Linked DNA regions of Homo sapiens: region 1 is linked to region 2. The links are contacts of gene promoters, found by promoter capture Hi-C in blood cells and fetal thymus (Javierre and others, 2016). All regions are on one chromosome and are shown on one strand. Each heading gives the region's core, a stretch centred on a gene start or on the middle of the fragment in contact. The rest is flanking DNA. Distances are from core to core; before and after follow the strand shown. Region 1 has its middle 65 kb from the start of PRKG1. Region 2 holds the start of MBL2 (mannose binding lectin 2).

Region 1 (2,700 bases), core at 50-2,549, 1.8 Mb after region 2:
TTTGTTTTCAGTTGTTACATCAAATGATTTCAGGATTAGGAACAAGCACTTCACATCTTCAGTTCAACTTACTGTGTAGCCCTTTTCCAGCAATCATCTCCAACTTGGACAGTTCAAGCACTTACTAAAGCAAGTATTATTTCATGATACATGTTCCCCTATCTTTTGTTTATATTATAGTTAGGATACCACATATATATATATGCATAGATACACACAATTATGTGTGCAGATGGGTTATATTATTGATGAATTTAATTTCAGCATAGTGAGGGAGCATTAGGAAATATCTGGTATGAAAAGGAAAGCATTGTCTGAAATAGGGTTATAAATCACTACTCTTGCCCATCATAATCTTTTGGGATCTTGATTCTGTTTTCCAACATAATAAGCAATCCTCACAGCATCTTGCCCTGTGCAAATCTGAGTGAGATGCCATTAATGGCCTCACCCAAATAATTGGCAAAGATGCTTAATGTAGAGCGAATGATTTACGCTGGGTAGTAGAATTCGCTTTTCTGCACGTGCTCCATGGAATTCCACATCTACCTTTCAACCTACATTCTTAACACAACTTCGCACAAACAATGGCCCTGGAAAATTCCCACAAATCAGAGGCCAATCATGCTTCCCAGTGGAGCCACCCTCTCCTGACCCCTCCTTCCACTGCTGAAGGCACTTGGACATTTCCAGTAAAGTTTCTATAAAATGAAATAACCATTTGAATTATACCTGAGATCTTTTACAATAAAGAGAAGAGAAACTTTCCAAAATCTCTGATAGCAGGCGTATGAGAATCAAAGCAAAGAAGATACAATTTTGAGGAGAATGGAGAATGATACTTCTCTCTGGGTAGCATGAATGTTCTGGCAGATTTTCTTTCCAAAAGTACGATTCCATATTGAACAATGCATTGTCAAATATTTTATATCTTCAAGAAGTCCAAAACCATTCCCAGAAATCTGGATTCTTTGAACCACCTTGTATGAGAATGTTTCTGAATTAAATAGACCCAGAAAGAAATATATTATCATAAATTTCTAAATTATATTTTCAGATGATAACTGGAATGTCCATTGTATAATTTATTTTATATAAAACTAATTCACTAATAAGACTATTCAACTAGCTCATGCTGTCTCTTAAATTTTTCTTATATTCTTAAGAGAAAGCTTAACTTTTCAGTGGTATGATAGTAAAATAGAAATACCATAACAGAAATCCTCAATTTCTGTTATAGACTACATTAACAAAAACCCTCTAGTAAAGCTAAAAGTATGTGTGTGCACCTTAGATTGAGGTGGAGGTGGGAGAACTATTTAAATTCTACTTTTAAATGCAGAGAATAATGTTAACTTAAAAATAGTTTATCCCTAAATATAACTGTGTTTCAAAATGTATAATTTAATTGGCATTTAAAGCTTTTCTAAATTAGTTAGATAAATACACCAAAGAAAATCTATCTTTATCCTAATATATCTATTTGTGGTTTATTCCATTTGTTCTTTGTAACCCTAAAGAAACAAGTTACCAAAATTATAGGGAATTAAGGCATTGAAATTATAGCATAGAAGGGTTTTTTTTCCTTCTAAAATTACAGGTAAGAAAACTACAGTCTACAGAAGTTGTCTCACATTTTAAGCCCAATTTTGTTTCCCTATAAATCCTTATAAAACTCATACCATGAAAACAAGAGAACCACAAACCATCAGAGATGTGTGACATTTCATGGAGCCACCAGAGACTAATACTTTCATCTGAACCAAAGGACAATCAATCAACACCATATCCTTTGAAAAATAAGAAAATGGGAGAAGGAGGGAGGGCAGATGGAAATGGCAGGTGAAAAAGCCTCCACAAAACCTTGTATCATAAATACCTAAATGTGTCCTTTACTCTCTTCATCTCATCCAAAATCTTTTTTTTCCATGGGCTCAGCAGACTTCAGAAGTCACAGCTCCATATCTTGGGCTTGAAGGAAGATAAATACAGGTGTATGGTACAACTGTGACCTTATTTGAACACAGCATCTTTATAGATGTAATCAAGACGACATCATATTGGATTAGGGTGGGCCCCAAATTGAATGACTAGTAATCTTACAAGAGGGGAATTTAGACACACATACTCACAGAGAAAAGACAACCATGTGAAAATGAAGGCAAAGATTGGAATGCAAGTCCAAGTCATGGAATGGTTAAGGTTGCCAGCAACCACCAGAAGCTAGAAAGAGGCAAGGGAAGCTCCTCTCCTAGGGTTTTCAGAAAGAGCATGGCTCTGCTGACACCTTGAATTCGAACTTCTAGTCTACAGAGCTGGGAGTAAATAAATTTCTGTTGCTTGAAGCCACCCAGTTTGTGGCGATGTGTTCCAGCAGAACTAAGAAATGAATGCATATAGTCACCCTTCTTGCAGTATATACCTAGAAAGCTACTTCTCAAGGAGTTATAGCAAATTTCCTGGTCCCAAATTCCCCAAGCCTACCTATTAAGCCAGAATCTTTGGAGATGGGCCTAGGAGTCTTCACTGCAACAAATGGAACCCAAGAGATGTTTATACGTACTACAGTTTGAGAAGAACTGGGCATATGAATGATCTGAAGGTCTTCACAAAGCCCAATTTCCTCCAATTTTCCCCTATGTTCCTGCTGTTGATTATCATGTAGTATAGTGTCAGAGCCCTAGAGCCAGACGTCTTGGA
Region 2 (2,700 bases), core at 201-2,700:
ATCCCTTCTAGATTGTCCCCATTAACCACAGCAAGATGGTTCAAGCCATTAACACACACGATACCCATGATCTTATAGTGCCAAGTGCTGTTCTTTTGCTTCTTATCTCAGTTGAGTGGCTCCTAGATAGTCAAGTCATAAATGTGTGTGCCCATGAAAACTTCTTATTATCACTCACTATTCTAGCTAATTCTCAAGTGCAATCAATACCTCCTGTTTCTCAAGTGTGCCTACCTTCTTAATCTAGCTGCCATTACCCTGACCCAGGCCACTGTCTTCTGCTGCTTAGATCATGGCAAGCACTTCCTTTTAGATCTGCTTTTCTCCAGTCCTGTTCCCCTCAACATCATAGCCAGAACAAGCCTTGCAAAATTCAAATGTGATCACCTCTCCACTACTGCAGTCCCTCTAGTGCCCCCTGGAAGGAAACCCAAAGTCTTTAACACAGTTTACAATTCTTGTTATGAGGATGAAATTTGAAGACATTGTGCTAAGTGAAATAAGCCAGATACAAGGGGGCTATTGTATGATTTCACATATATGAGGTACCTAGGATAGATGAATTCAGAGAGACAGAAAGTAAAACAGAAGTTACCAGTGGCTGTGGGTAGGGGTAAATGGAGAATTCTAGTTTAATGAGTTGAGAGTTTCAGTTTGGGATGATGAAAATCATCCCATGATGTGGTGATGATAGCACAACCGTGTGAATGTACTTAATGCTACTGAGTTGTGTGCTTAATAATAATGGTCAAAATGGTAAATTTTATGTCTATTTTACCACAATGAAAAACTGGAAAAGTAAAGTCAATGACTATAATATCATAAAGTGTAAGTAACATGAGAGAAAATAATTCAGGCTAAGAGGATAGAGACTGCTAGGTAGGACTATTTTAGAATAAGTGATCAAGGTACTGATTTCTCTGAAATTGGAATATTTGAATAGAAGAGAAAGAGCTAGCTGGCGATGCCCGTAAGGGGTCCAGGCATGGAGACATCAAATGAAGAGTCTGAGGCAGGAATGGCCTTAATGCATTAATGGCAGCAAGAGGTCTATGTGGTTTCATGGATGGGTGTGTGCGTGCATGCACGTGTCTGTGTGTATAGTTGGTGTGCATGAGCATGTGTATGCATTTGTGAGTATCTTTGTTTTTCTGTTGGAAACAAGGATGTCAACAGGACTAACTAGGTGAACCTAGCTGTGGTAGTTCAGCAATGAGATTTGCCAAAATGGATGGCAATTGAAAGAGGAATTGTGCTGTATTAAAGCAGACAGCTGCCGAGCACTGTATTGGAGGCTCCTAAATTTCTCATAGTTCTGAGAAGAGCTGTTTATTAATCTGGAGTTGAAGGCCAGGCCCAGGATATCCTTGTTCACAAGGTTGATTGGGCCCTACATTGCTGAGCCCAGCCTCCTCCCTCACTCTGAGGCATCTGCCAGAGCCCCAGGCTAGAGGGCCAGCGTCCTTGTCACTGAGTCCCTGCTCTGCAGAAACACCAGTAAGTCATTTCTGGTGAATAAATCTGGGTTTCCGGATCAAGGGTTTGGGGAGCTGACATGACCCTGGAGGCATGGAGGAGGCTTTCTAGGGGTGGGGGGAGTGGGATGGAAAGCAGAAATCAGGTTGAGGATGTCTCTTTTTCTGCTTGTGCTGGAGCATCTGTGACTTTCCTCCATTATCTGTTCATCTGCAGTGGAGACTGTCTTTGTTTTCAAAGGGAAACTTGGAGGCTTAGACCTATGGGGCTAGGCTGCTGAGGTTTCTTAGGGGGCAATAGCTGGAAGAAAGCTCTGAAGAACAAATGAAAGGTTAATACTGAGAAATGGGAGGAGGATTCAAGGCAAGTTTTCTAATTGCCAGTGGTTTTTGACTCACAGAACATGGGGAATTCCTGCCAGAAAGTAGAGAGGTATTTAGCACTCTGCCAGGGCCAACGTAGTAAGAAATTTCCAGAGAAAATGCTTACCCAGGCAAGCCTGTCTAAAACACCAAGGGGAAGCAAACTCCAGTTAATTCTGGGCTGGGTTGGTGACTAAGGTTGAGGTTGATCTGAGGTTGAGACCTTCCTCTTTGGATCACCAGCTTTCAGCTCAGGGCCTGCCAATGAGTAAATGATAGTTAACAGGTCCTGGAGGGGAATCAGCTGCCCAGATACAAAGATGGGATTCAGGTGGCAGATGGACCCGAAGAGGACATGGAGAGAAAGAGGAAGCTCCTACAGACACCTGGGTTTCCACTCATTCTCATTCCCTAAGCTAACAGGCATAAGCCAGCTGGCAATGCACGGTCCCATTTGTTCTCACTGCCACCGAAAGCATGTTTATAGTCTTCCAGCAGCAACGCCAGGTGTCTAGGCACAGATGAACCCCTCCTTAGGATCCCCACTGCTCATCATAGTGCCTACCTTTGTTAAAGTACTAGTCACGCAGTGTCACAAGGAATGTTTACTTTTCCAAATCCCCAGCTAGAGGCCAGGGATGGGTCATCTATTTCTATATAGCCTGCACCCAGATTGTAGGACAGAGGGCATGCTCGGTAAATATGTGTTCATTAACTGAGATTAACCTTCCCTGAGTTTTCTCACACCAAGGTGAGGACCATGTCCCTGTTTCCATCACTCCCTCTCCTTCTCCTGAGTATGGTGGCAGCGTCTTACTCAGAAACTGTGACCTGTGAGGATGCCCAAAAGACCTGCCCTGCA

What was found. The method cuts DNA at HindIII sites, captures the fragments that hold promoters and counts their contacts. A CHiCAGO score of 5 or more calls a contact.
Region 1: a contact is called between a fragment that was not itself captured here and the fragment with the promoter of MBL2 in region 2, in 1 of 17 cell types (endothelial precursors). The highest score is 6.9, in endothelial precursors.

Annotation. Positions count from the first base shown.
Region 1 is chr10:51,008,016-51,010,715 of GRCh38, reverse strand. It overlaps a transcript of PRKG1 not described here. Among named protein-coding and RNA genes, the nearest start is that of PRKG1, 65 kb to the left of the region's middle. The HindIII fragment of the contact is 249 bases long and covers 1,175-1,423 here.
Region 2 is chr10:52,771,534-52,774,233 of GRCh38, reverse strand. It overlaps MBL2 (mannose binding lectin 2), which reads left to right and starts at 1,450. Exons shown (of 5, transcript NM_001378373.1): 1 at 1,450-1,497; 2 at 2,590-2,700. The coding sequence starts at 2,599. The HindIII fragment of the contact is 7,250 bases long and covers 1-2,700 here.